2 separate regions of the Homo sapiens genome follow, and region 2 is linked to region 1. Evidence: promoter capture Hi-C in human tissues and cell types (Jung and others, 2019). All regions are on one chromosome and are shown on one strand. Each heading gives the region's core, a stretch centred on a gene start or on the middle of the fragment in contact. The rest is flanking DNA. Distances are from core to core; before and after follow the strand shown. Region 1 holds the start of XRRA1 (X-ray radiation resistance associated 1). Region 2 holds the start of OR2AT4 (olfactory receptor family 2 subfamily AT member 4).

Region 1 (7,084 bases), core at 2,590-5,089:
AAGACAGTATGTCATATTAAGTGACAGCTTAATTCCCATGTGCAGTGTAAGTGCTAGAGGAATTCAGGGAGGGAACAGTTCAATGTAAGGCTGAAACTAAGTTTTCCAAGAAAAGGCACTCAAGCAGCTCTTGACTATTCTCTTCTGTCCCTCACTTATTGGTTAAATCTTCCAAGCACTCTTTTGTGAGACCTTTTATCTATTTCTGCTACTCATGTTGGGGTTCTCATCACCTTGTCATTCTATTTTTTACCACAGACAGCCCTTTACAAAGAACATTTACTTCTAGTAGATTCCAAAGGACAGGGAACAGAGCTGGGTGCGGTGGCTCATGCCTGTAATTCCAGTACTTTGGGAGGCTGAGGTGGGCAGATCACTTGAGGCCAGGAGTTCACGATTAGTCTGGGCAACACAGTGAGACCTTGTCTCTACCAAAAATAAAAATAAAAATAAAATAAAAAGGGCAGAGGAAACCAAACTAAAAAACCCAAAGAACATTTACCAGCACTATACAATTTGATCCTTACAACAAGCCTATAATATGTATGAATGTCCACAATATTTACATAAGGAAATTTAAATTCAGTAATATCACACAACTTATCCAAGGTCATGTGGCTTTTATTAGGTAGGTGCAAAAGTTATCGTGGTTTTTGCCATTACTTTCAATGGCAAAAACAGCAATTACTTTTGCACCAACCTAATAACATGCGGCACTAGAACTCAAATTTGTCTCTTTTTATTATATATTATACACTACTGTGTATACGGCCTTATTAAGAAGTCTTCTAATTTCTGTCTCTCCAAACCATCTGAATAGTTTTCCTAAAAACCACTTTACACAGTCTCAAAACCCTTCAACAGCTTTCCTCTACTTCAAGCAATCCACGGCCTCCCTAATCAGATGCTATCTACTTGTCACTACAGTTCCTTTAGAGAGCCTTCTAGTCAACTCAATACCTGAGAAACATAAAACACCATCACATCTGTGTAACTTTACTCAAGGAGACTTTTTTACCTGGCATGTCTTTCTTTTCTCCCCCCAAATAAGGTGCCAGTTCCACTTTCAGGAATGAGGCCTTTCCTTCAGGCTCTTACTCTTTTTTTTTTTTTTTTTTTGAGACAGAGTTTCCCTCTTGTTGCCCAGGCTGGACTGCAATGGCGTGATCTCGGCTCACTGCAACCTCCACCTCCCGGGTTCAAGCGATTCTCCTGCCTCAGCCTCCCGAGTAGGTGGGATTACAGGCATGCACCACCACACTTCGCTAATTTTGTATTTTTAGTAGAGATGGGGTTTCTCCATCTTGGTCTGGCTGGTCTTGAACTTCCGACCTCAGGTGATCCGCCTGCCTTGGCCTCTCAAAGTGCTGGGTTTACAGGTGTGAGCCACTGCGCCCGGCCGAGGCTCTTACTCTTATCAATAAGCTCGCAGGGTTCACTCTATTTCTCTCATTTGAACTTCCGTAACAAGTACACACTTGAGCGAATATACCATATACTTCCTTAAATAGATTCAATTACCCCATCTCCTATATTTGGCTATTCTGAGTGCTCTCTGACAGTAGGATTCTTGATTTACTCCTCCACCATCACACATCTGTACTGGACACTACAGGTAATGGAGATCATTAATGTGTACTGTCTTACTTGGTTCTTCCCAAAACCCTGTGATCTAGGTGCCAGAGATTCCAAAATTCCAAATGAAGAAAGGTTAAGTGACTTGCCAATCTTCATACTGTTAGCAAGTAGCAGAAATACTTCAAAGCTGAAATCTTATGATCCCCACATCCGGGTTCTTTCAATAACACAATGGTGCCATATACACTATTCCATAATAATAGTATTCTATACTGCCTTAGCAGAATGCCCATACTTAATGTTTGCTGATGATGATCCAAGTGCAAGGAAGAGCAAGAGCAGTTAGTGGGGCAGGTAAGCACAGGCTATGAGGTGCTTACCTAGCAAGAGGGAAGGATTTGTGTACACAAATGACCATCAATTCCCCATACTCTCACATGTCTTGAAGCAATTTACCATCCCAACCTCCAGAATATGTTTCTGTATCTTAAGGTTTGAGTGTGAGGCCAGGTGCATGGTGACTTATGCCTGTAATCCCAGCACTTTGGGGAGCCAAGGTGGGAGGATCTCTTGAGGCCCAGGAATTTGAGACCAGCCAGGGCAACACAGTAAGACCCTGACTCTACAGAAAAGTTAAAAGCAAAAAAATTAGTCAGGCATAGTGGTGCACATTTGCAGTCCCAGCTACTCAGGAAGCTGGGGTGGGAAGATCACCTAAGCTTAAGAGTTCAAGGCCGCAGTGAGCTAAGATCCATTCTGGGCAATGGAGCGTGACCCCTCTCACAAGAGAAGAGTGTGAGAACCATGTCTTTCAAAACCAATGACACTCAAAAAGACAAGTAAAAAGACCTGGATCTTAACCCCTCAACATAATCATGTTTTCATTTCTTAAGCACCTACCATGTGTTATGCACAGGGAAGTCTGAAAGCTGTTTTCAATTATATTCAAAAATTCTGCTTACTATATTAAAGACACCATGCTTAACAATTCTCATCAAACCAGCCCAGGGCCCTACAATGAGAGAACTGGAAGGGAATTTAGAGTTAAGTCCCTCATTTTAAGGCTAAATCTCTCACTTTGCAGATGAGAAAACAGATATAGAGAGAGCAAGCATATTTCAAGGTCACAAAGCTAATTAGAGGCAAAATCAACACCAGGACGTTGTTCTCCGTGCAACTGTTTCTTCCAAGATGCTGTGCAAAGAGCAAGAAAGGCCAACCCAGGGACAGTTTTCCTTTTTTTCTTTTCTTTTAAACCCTTGTTGCTAGGACTGCAGTTAAAAAAAATTTTTTTGGATGAGCAGAGGGAGGAAAGGGGCAAGCGTGAGCGGGCAGCAGTGCACTTGGTAGCAAAGAGGGAGGTGGAGGGAAGAGAGGAGAGGGCGGGGAAAAACAACAGGAAAAAAAGAAAAATCTTAAAGGCTTCTTGTCAGCCCAGTAGAACAGTCAATACTCAAATATTTTCAGTATTCGCCTATCATGATAAAACGCCTAAAAACTTCAGTAAGCAAAAGGACAAGAAGCACTTTGGAATCTGTAGCAGCACGCAAGGGTGATGGTGGTAGAGAGTTTGGGGGATACTGATTCTTTAATCTTTGGGCTTCGGTTTTCCGTGTCTGTGAAATGGGCACTGACAACAGTGCACCCAGCCCCCCAGGAGAAAAGAGATGGACACGATTAAATATAGGAAAAATCAAATTACCGAAAAAGGTGTGGCGACCAGGACCAGAACACTTGCGAGAAAAGAAGAAGTTCTAAAGAGGACCGGGTCCAGGTTTGAAGTGTGATGAGGGCAAGGGCAGGCTCCAAGCGTGCGTAGGGTTGTGATAGTGGTCACACAAGGGCTCCCCTCAAAAGGCCGTAGAAAATAAGGGAGACCGGGATGGGAAGGTTGGCTCGCCGCCTCCCAGGCCTCCCCAGGATTCAACTGTTCCCAAGAACCGGCTCCTCACCTTATCCAACAAGCCGCTACGGCCACTTCCTGTCCCGCAGTTGGAAGCACCACCAGCCCCACTACAGCCTCCGCTACCACCGCTTCTCCCGCCCTGTACAGCTGCCGCCGCCATCTTGTCCGCCTCTGCGTCTCCCTCCCCTCCGACTTGTCTGAAGCCGATTGGCTGGAGCTGACAGCGTGACGCGCCGCGCGGAGTCAATCGGGATCCGTAGTTTGGGTCTTGCTGGCGCGAGGTAGTCAGAGGACGTGGCCGCGGGGCTTGCTGGGACTTGAGGTTAGACGTCCCGGCCGTCGGTTGCCGCCTACACTGTCTGCCGTCGCGTCGCAGTTACTAAGGCGTGGGGAAGATAGCGGCAGGCACCGCAGTGGAGCGGCTCCGAGATCCCCGGGGGGCTCGCAGGCGCGCATCCCTCCTGACTGGGACGTCGCCTCCGCAGACCCCTCGGAGGCTGAAGCGACGCCGGAGGCAGGTGCGACTGAAACTTAGTTTTCGAATTCGAGTCTTTCTCCGGCCCAGGTGTGGAGTTTCCAAAGGAGTGGGCAGGAGCTTGTCCTTCATCCTTTTCTAGCCCGGTTGTGGCACTTACCGATTATTCTCTCAAGCAGCTGTCATTTTAGCTGTTTGTAATGTTTTCGTGTTAACGGAGAACTCGCGTTTACTGAGTGCCTACAGTCTGCCAGGCAGTATCCTATGTGCACTTCCAGCCATCCTCTCTCTCACTGAGTCCCACAACAGCCCTGTTAGATGAGGAGGAAACTAAAGAACCTACCCAAAGCCAGATAGCATGTATCTGAACTCGGTTTTCAAGCCGGCATTTAAAAAAAATCAAAACCAATATATATCCCTTCTGACACTCTGCTTTTACGGTTTTAGGATGTAATAGTATTCTAGATTTTAATTATTTTTTTCACAAATGTATATTGAGCACCAATATTGTACTAACGGATACAGGGGATCAAGATAGACCTGGTTGCTACTCTGGTGGACTACTACTCCATGACAGAGTTATCAAATAGCAGTATTGTATTATACCATGCTCTATTACGTTGTATTTTAATTAATTTTTTTCACAAATGTATATTGAGCACCAATATTGTACTAACGGATACAGGGGATCAAGATAGACCTGGTTGCTACTCTGGTGGAACTACTACTCCATGACAGAGTTATCAAATAGCAGTATTGTATTATACCATGCTCTATTACGTTGTATTGTTTTTTAATTCCTATATATCCCCCATAAGCGTCTAAAGAATTAAACAAATATTTTTGAGTTTCTTACTATGTAACAGGCACTATTCTAGTCACCAGGGATATATCCCTGAATAAAACAGACAAAAACTTGTCTTGGGGAAGCCAAAATTCATGTGAAAATAATTATCTCGGCCGGGCGTGGGGGCTCATGGTTGTAATCCCCGCCAAGGCAGGCGGATCACCTGAGGTCAGGAGTTAAAGACCAGCCTGGCCAACATGGTGAAACCCCGTCTCTACTAAAAATACAAAAATGAGCCGGGCGTGGTAGCGGGCACCTGTAATCCCAGCTACTTGGGAGGCTGAGGCAGGAGAATTGCTTGAACCGGGGAGGCGGAGGTTGCAGTGAGCCGAGATCAGAAAGAAAAGAAAATAATTATCACTAAATAACTAAATTATTACTAAAAAGAAAATAAATATCACTAAATAGCAATAACATCAGATGATATTTCATTACCTCTGTGAAGCAATCCGTGGACACTAGTCAGATCCCCTGTAGCTTGTTGTTGCAGTTTATCTTTTACAACTTCTCATTTTTCTTTTATTTAAAATAAAGTGAGATGATACAGCATTGCCCTAGTCACTTTTTATTTTATTTTTTATTTTTTGAGACAGAGTCTCACTCTGTCACCCAGGCTGGAGTGCAGTGGTGGGATCTTGGCTCACTGCAACCTCTGCCTCCTGGGTTCAAGCAGTTCTTGTGCCTCAGCCTCCCAAGCTGTAGTCTTTGTAGCTGGGACTACAGGCACATGCCACCACACCTGGCTAATTTTTATATTTTTAGTAGAGACAGGATTTCGCCGTGTTGGACAGCCTAGTCTTGAACTCATGACCTCAAGTGATCCGTCTGCTTCGGCCTCCCAAAGTGCTGGGATTACAGGCATGAACCACCACACCAGGCCAACTTCTCATCTTTCAAGATCCAGCTTTAATGTCACCTACCCTGTGAAACTATTTCTGATACTTGCTTCTTCTTTCTTCACCCACTGCATGAAGTGCTCCTGTGGCATTTTGTTCATGGGTTGGGTTAGTTCAATTAACAATCATTGAGACTCTTCCTTCAGTAGGCCAGGTCCTGTGTGAGATGCAGGATAAAGAGATAAGTACAGGCTCACGCCTGTAATCCCAGCACTTTGGGAGGCCGAGGCGGGCGGATCACGAGGTCAGGAGATCAAGACCATCATGGCTAACATGTTGAAACCCCGTCTCTACTAAAAATACAAAAAATTACCCAGGCATGGTGGCGGGCGCCTGTAGTCCCAGCTTCTAGGGAGGCTGAGGCAGGAGAATGGCGTGAGCCCGGGAGGCGGAGCTTGCAGTGAGCTGAGATAGCGACACTGCACTCCAGCCTGGGTGACAGAGCAAGACTCCGTCTCAAAAAAAAAAAAAAAGAAAAAGAGGTAAGTAGGACCCAGGCCTGACCTGACCTTGGAGATACTCACAGCCTGTAGTGAGGTGGGGAACAAACAAGGAAGCAGGCATTATAATACAGTGTGGTATAGTGCCTGTATTAGTCCATTTTCACACTGCTATAAAGAACTGCTCAAGACTGGGTAATTTATAAAGGAAAGAGGTTTAATTGACTCACGGTTCTGCATGGCTGGGGAGGCCTCAGGAAATTTACAATCATGGCGGAAAGGGAAGAGGCAAGTCTTACATGGCAACAGGCAAGAGAGGGCAAGAGTGTGAAGGAGGAACTGTCAGTTATAAAACCATCAGATCTCGTGAGAGCTCACTCACTATGGTGAGGACAGCATGGGGGACCACCTCCTTGATCCAATCACTTCCTACTAGGTCTCTCTCTCAACACATGGGGATTATGGGGATTACAATTCAAGATGAGATTTGGGTGGGGACACAAAGCCTAACCATGTTAGTGCCTCCATTAAGAAGTGGGCCTGATGGCTGGGCAAGGGGGTTCACGCCTGTAATCCCAACACTTTGAGAGGCTGAGTTGGGAGTTTGAGGCAGCCTGGGCAACATGGTGAAAACCCATCTCTATCAAAAATATAGAAATTTAGCTGGGCATGGTAGCACACGTCTGTGGTCCAGCTACTTGGGAGGCTAAGGTGGGAGGATTGCTTGAGTCTGGGAGGTGGAGGTTGCAGTGAGCTGAGATCATGCCACTGCACTCCAGCCTGGGTAACAGAGTGAGACCTTGTCTCAAGAAAAAAAGAAAAAATAAATAAAAAAAGAAGTGGGCTTGAGGAGGCTCAGCCTAAGGAGAGGGAGATACAGGAAAGCTAATCTGTATGTAGCCGGGCAAGGAAGAGGGGCAGAAATGTGATAGGCCAAAGGAA
Region 2 (6,694 bases), core at 2,977-5,476, 150 kb before region 1:
CCATATTGGTCAGGCTGGTCTCAAACTCCTGACCTCAGGCAATCTACCCGCCTCGGCCTCCCAAACTGCTGGGATTACAGGTGTGATCCACCATGCCCGGCCAATTTAATATATTCTTAATGGTAAATAAAATAAAATACTTACACTAAATTCTTATTTTGTGCTTTCTGTTTATATTTCAAATAGCATGATTCAATTTAATTCCTTTTATCCTCCTTTTATTTCCTGAATGATCTGCATAACTTTGTCTAATTTCAACTTTGAGGGCTTCATTTTTTTGTAAACTTGCTAAAAATTTTTTTTTTGGTTCTAAGCAATATTTGTTTTAAATAACCTGTCCACTTTTTCTGTGCTATCTTTAAAATAATAAAACCTCTATCACTGAATGCTACTTCCACATATATGTGGAAATTAAACAAGAGACTTCTAAATAACCAATGGGTAAAAGAATAACAAGGGAAATTAGAAAATAATTTGAGATGAATGAAAATGAACACACAACATGCCCAAATTTATGGGATACAGCTAAAGCAGTACAGAGAGGGAAATTTATAGCTGTAAACACCTATATTAAAAAGAAAACAAATCTCAAGTCAGTACCCTAACTGTTTATCTTTAGAAATTAAAAAAGAAAAGCAAACTCAACTCAAACAAGAAGTGGGCATAAAATAACAAAGATTAGAACAGAAATAAATGAAATAGAGAATAGAAAAATAAAGAAAATCAACAAAACCAAAGTTGGTTCCTTGACTATATCAATAAAACTGTTAAAACTTTAGCCTACCAATATAAAAAGAGATAAGACTCCCATTACTAAAATCAGAAGTGAAAGAGGGGACATTACTATAGACCATATGGAAATAAATAAGAAATGTTAAAGGAACAGATCACCACTCAATATCAGAAACAAAAGGCTGAATGTATCACTAGTGTAAGCACAGGATGCTATGGTTTATGATATAGTCTGTTTTTGAGAAACACAGGGAGCTGATCTTACACAGGGCTGTGGAAAATGTGGAGATCTGGGGTTGGTGGACTTTCAAAGGTGGGAGTGTTTAGGGATTAGTTTGCTTTTAGCTATGGAAGTGTGGTTACTGGAGTTAAACCATTGCTGAGTGGCTTTTAGATTCCCTGACTTTCAGAAGTGTGGGTACTGGCTCAAAGCTGTGATTAAACAATTAAGTATGTTTCTTTGTTTGTTTTTTGAGGTTTTTGGGAAACAGAGTCTCACTCTGTTGCCCAGGCTGGAGCGCAGTGGTGTAATCTCGGCTCACTGCAACCTCCACCTCTTGAGTTCAAGCAATTCTCATGCCTCAGCCTCCTGAGTAGCTGGGACCACGGGTGCACACCACCACGCCCAGCTAATTTTTTTTTTTTTTTTTTGTATTTTCGTAGAGACGGGGTTTCAGCTATGTTGCCCAGGCTGTTCTCAAACTCCTGAGCTCAGGCAATCCACCCACGTTGGCCTCCCAAAGTGCTGAGATTACGGGTGTGAGCCACCATGCCCAGCCAGTTAAGCATGTTTTAAACAAGTTCTGATCATTGTTACTATGGCTATAGAAAAGCCAGTCATTTCCTAGCAGGATGAGGAGAGTTTTATTCTTAGAGGTAATAAAAGAAATCCTATTTTATCCCATAATGTTATAAAAGTAAGTCTTAGAATGTTGGCTTTTTATACAAAGAAATCTCAGCCAACAGTTTTACTCTCTATTTTGGTTCATTCTCTTTAGTAAAACAAAATAGGAAATCCAAAAGGATTCTAAATTTTAGTTTTTGTTTGTTTTCTCCTACTTATTGCAATTCTCTTAACTGTTGCACTCCATATGGGTTATTTCAGCCCAAGTGCCCAAGTCTTTTAGTTACTTTCATACATAACATCTCGAAAGCCTTAAGTCATTCTTATGCCGCCAAAAGATGGCTTTTTAAGGCTTATTAGGGATCTCATCACGTCTAAGAAATGGAAAACAGAACAAAAGAATCCACCTAACCACCTGGTGATTTTGCAGGATTCTTTGCCTTTAACTTAAGAGAGCTTAGTCTTCTCCCCCAGAAACATCTTTAGCACTTACCTTTATGGCACCAAAGCGAAGATCCACATAAATTTATCCCAAACCAAAATTCTTCTCTTTAGCAAGTAGTGAGTAGATCCAGACAGGAGGAGACAGCACATACAGTTCTGCTTGTGATTCAAAGAAACTTCCCAAACCATCTTTAGCTCCATCATGAAGTTTATCAGGTCAGGAGAGGGCTGTAACCTCTGTTGTACCATGTTTTCATTTCCATCGTGTTCTGTACTCAGCTGCTAAGGACTTAGTAACCTCCCAGTCTGCAGTTGAAAGTCTACAGTCTGCAGAGGTCTAATAGGGAAGTCTCTTCTGCAGGCTGAAATGAACCCTTCATGCATGGGTTTTCCCCTGGTCCTGGGCAGAAGCATCAGGCCGGGTGTAACAGGGTCATCTCAGTCATCACTGTGACTCAGCATCCTCAAAGCTTCTGGGTTTGAAGCTGGGATAGTCCCTGCACATGCACACCCCATTCCATTTGAAAATGTGCTGACTGCTTGGCCCAGAAGTTCTACTTCTAAGGATCTGTCTATCTCCGAGAAATATTTGAGCACATGTGACCCCAAATGCATGTTAAAAGGAAATTAATTATAATAGTTTTCATAATAGCAAGAATGAGATAGAACTTAAATGTTCATCAACAGATGAGTTATTAGACAAACTATGTTGTATCTGTACTACAAAATGCCAAATATCAGATACAAAAAAATGAAGTAGATCAGACACAGAAAAATTCCTAGACTTATTAAATTAAAATATGCTATACAATAAATACAGAATGATTCAATTTACATTAAAAGAAAAGCAAAACCATACACACATACACAAACACATGCGCTTAGAAAAGTCTGGAAGAAACACACCAAATCAGTAATAATGTTTACTTCTGGAGCATGGAGGAAAAATGTGGGTAAGAATTGGTGTGAAGAAGACTAACTAACTCTTCTTTCTTTTCTTTCTTCCTTCCTTTCTTTCTGACAGGATCTCACTCCATTGTTAAGACTGGAGGAAAAATATGGGTAAGAATTGGTGTGAAAAAAAACTTTCTCTCTCTTTCTCTCCCTCCCCTCCCTCCCTTCCCTTCCCTCCCTTCCTCCCTTCCCTCCCTCCCTCCCTTCCCCCACTCCCTTCCCTCCCTTCCTCCCTTCCCTCCCTCCCTTCCCCCACTCCCTTCCCTCCCTCCCTCCCTTCCCCCACTCCCTTCCCTCCCTTCCCCCCTTCCCCCCTTCCACCACTCCCTTCCTTCCTGGGTCTCACTCCATTGCTAAGGCTAGAGTGCAGAGGCACAGCTGTGGCTCACTGCAGCCTGAACTTCCCAGGCTCAGGTGTTTCTCCTGCCTCAGCTTCCCTGGTAGCTGATGGGTCCGGAATTGGTGGGTTCTTGGTCTCACTGACTTCAAGAATGAAGCCACGGACCCTCGCGGTGAGTGTTACAGCTCTTAAGGTGGCGCGTCTGGAGTTTGTTCCTTCTGACGTTCGGATGTGTTGGGAGTTTCTTCCTTCTGGTGGGTTGGTGGTCTCACTGGCTCAGGAGTGAAGCTGCAGACCTTCGCGGGGAGTGTTACAGTTCTTAAGGCGGCGCATCTGGAGTTGTTCGTTTCTCCCGGTGGGCTAGTGGTCTCACTGGCTTCAGGAGTGAAGCTGCAGACCTTCGTGGTGTTACATCTCTTAAGGCAGCGCATCTGGAGTTGTTCGTTCCTCCTGGTGGGCTTGTGGTCTCGCTGGCTTCAGGAGTGAAGCTGCAGACCTTCGCGGTGAGTGTTACAGCTCATAAAAGCAGTGTGGACCCAAAGAGTGAGCAGTAGCAAGGTTTATTGCAAAGAGCGAAAGATCAAAGCTTCCATAGTGTGGAAGGGGACCTGAGCGGGTTGCCACTGCTGGCTCGCGCAGCCTGCTTTTATTCTCTTACCTGGCTCCACCCACATCCTGCTGATTGGTAGAGCCCAGTGGTCTGTTTTGACAGGGCGCTGATTGGTGCGTTTACAATCCCTGAGCTAGACACAAAGATTCTCCAAGGCCCCACCAGAGCAGCTAGATACAGAGTGTCCATTGGTGCATTCGCAAACCCTGAGCTAGACACAGGGTGCTGATTGGTGTGTTTACAAACCTTGAGTTAGATACAGAGTGCCGATTGGTGTATTTACAATCCCTGAGCTAGACATAAAGGTTCTCCACGTCCCCACCAGACTCAGGAGCCCAGCTGGCTTCACCCAGTGGGTCCCGCACCGGGGCTGCAGGTGGAGCTGCCTGCCAGTCCCGGAGCCATGCGCCCACACTCCTCGGCCCTTGGGTGGTCGATGGGACTGGGTGCTGTGGAGCACGGGGCAGCACTCATCGGGGAGGCGGGGGCCGCACAGGAGCCCAGGGAGGGGGTGGGAGACTCAGGCATGGCGGGCTGCAGGTCCCGAGCCCTGCCCCGCGGGAAGGCAGCTAAGGCCCAGAGAGAAATCGAGCACAGCGCCAGTGGGCTGGCACTGCTGGGGGACCCAGTACACCCTCCACAGCCGCTGGCCCGGGTGCTAAGCCTCTTATTGCCTGGGGACAGCAGGGCCGGCCGGCTGCTCTGAGTGTGGGGTCCGCCAAGCCCACGCCCACCCAGAACTCCAGCTGGCCTGCAAGCGCAGGCGCAGCCCTGGTTCCCACTCGCGCCTCTCTCTCCACACCTCCCTGCAAGCTGAGGGAGCCGGCTCCGGCCTTGGCCAGCCCAGAAAGGGGCTCCCACAGTGCAGCGGTGGGCTGAAGGGCTCCTCAAGTGCCGCCAAAGTGGGAGCCCAGGCAGAGGAGGCACCGAGAGCGAGCGAGGGCTGTGAGGACTGCCAGCACGCTGTCACCTCTCACTGAGACTACAGGTGCATGCCACCATGCCCAGCTAATTTTTTTGTATTTTTCAGTAGAGATAGAGTTTTGCCAGTTGTCCAAGCTGCTCTCTTACTCCTGGACTCAAGAGATCCTCCCCCTTCGGCCCGGCAAAGTGCTGGGATTACAGGCGTGAGCCACCACACCCGGCCTAGAACTTTCACTTTTGACTCAGTAAAGCTCTGTATTGATTAAAATGTTCTACAATGAGGTTCTGTTTATTACTTGTGAAATTAAAAAAAAATTAAAATTTTATGAGTATTAGTAGGAGTGACCAAGTCAGTCAAGTCAGAAACAGAACACTGGAGCCAAAGGAGAGAATCAGAAAGATTGAGGCAGGAAGAGTCTGTGACTCTTGACTTTGTCCTGTATGGGGTTGGGGCAGAGACTTCCACCCTCACATTCTTTCCACAAAACCTTTGCAAGTTCTCATTGCACAGCAGCGGAAGTATCACATACTCATTGAACAAGGCTTTACTGCTTTGGTCCATTAAAATAATAGCTCCCACTTATTGAATGCCTAATAAGTGGCAGGAACTGGGTGAAGCACCTCAACCTGCCCAGTTATCCTGTGAGAGAGTTAGTGTCGTTATACCCATTCCACAGATGACAAAATGAAGACCCAGTGAGGTTAAGGGATTTGTTCAAAGTCATATTACTGGGAATAACTCGGGTCTTAGTCATTAGATAACATGTTGCTGAACCACTGAACCAGAATTGGAGCCTTGGGTACAAATCCCAGCTCTGCCACCAGCCACTCATATGACCTTGGGCAAGTCACCTCACTTCTCTAGATCTCAGTTTCCTCAAATGTAAAATAGTGGAAATAATCCTGACTCTGCCTGTCTTCCCTGGCTATTGTGAGGACCAGATGGGAAAACAGGAATAATACTGGTGATAAAGTTCTGGGACCCATGAGGGTTGTTAATGATGTTGTTTTCATTATCAGCAAAGCCCAGAACAAAGTCCCCCACTCCACCCTCGGAAGTTGTTCTCAGCTGACTGGCAGTTATCTGGTCCCACGGGTGAGCCTTCTTGTGGGGAGAGAGCCCCAGCAGGCCTGGTTGCAGAGAGGGGCCCGAGGGTTTAAAGGGCCATGGTTGAGTTTCTACCTGGCTCTTCCCAACCAAGGCCAACTGTGACGACTCTACACAAGACATCAAGGCGGACCAGGATTGGTAGGTGAGCTGGGCTGGGGATGGAGTGCGCAGAGCAGGCAGAGACTGGGATGGGGAGATAGGCTCAGGGAGGTTGGGGGCATGTACAACCACAGTAAAGATCCTGGGAATGTCAGGGTCCCAGGATCCAAGTCAACCACGCAGTCAGCCTGGGTGAGTGTAGACCAGACACCCTCGCAGGCAGGGGCAGGGCTGTGCAGTCACAAGCAAGAGGCTAATGATCTTGGAAGAGAATTCCTCACAAGGAGGCAAAGCTGATGACGATAAGAGAAATGGGAATAATTTGTGAGGGAATTGCAGTCCATTGGAGGAAAGCACAAAGTGGTGGAGCCAGGAAGGAAACTCAGGCCTTTCTAACTGCAAAGTTAATAGACCTAGATTCTGTGCTTCACGTATATCCTGCTCCTTTTCTATGGAAACAGTGCAGGATGGTGAGAATATCATGAGAGAACTGCATGAGTTTGGGCGTCGTAATGATGTGTAATGACTGTAAAGAATCAAGCAGGCAACAGAAGCTTAACAAATGAGAGCGCCCTTGCTCTCCTTCCTAAGAGGCTGAGGCCATGACACATCTGTCTTCGAATCTCTCATTTATCT

The links. Contacts are between HindIII fragments. The study calls those that stand out against the background at their distance.
Region 2: a contact is called between a fragment that was not itself captured here and the fragment with the promoter of XRRA1 in region 1, in 2 of the 25 tissues and cell types used here (liver and mesenchymal stem cells).

Annotation. Positions count from the first base shown.
Region 1 is chr11:74,945,846-74,952,929 of GRCh38, reverse strand. XRRA1 (X-ray radiation resistance associated 1) reads left to right here and starts at 3,839. Exons shown (of 19, transcript NM_001378157.1): 1 at 3,839-4,002. It overlaps SPCS2 (signal peptidase complex subunit 2), which reads right to left and starts at 3,664. Exons shown (of 5, transcript NM_014752.3): 1 at 3,531-3,664. The coding sequence starts at 3,644. RefSeq lists enhancers at 3,410-3,459, 2,762-3,616, 3,540-3,759, 3,890-3,949, 4,070-4,119 and 1 more. The HindIII fragment of the contact is 13,977 bases long and covers 1-7,084 here.
Region 2 is chr11:75,096,231-75,102,924 of GRCh38, reverse strand. It overlaps OR2AT4 (olfactory receptor family 2 subfamily AT member 4), which reads left to right and starts at 6,049. Exons shown (of 2, transcript NM_001405852.1): 1 at 6,049-6,097. It also overlaps the pseudogene LOC100421207. RefSeq lists enhancers at 2,181-2,250, 2,521-2,590, 1,866-3,065 and a cis regulatory region at 5,675-6,190. The HindIII fragment of the contact is 2,061 bases long and covers 3,196-5,256 here.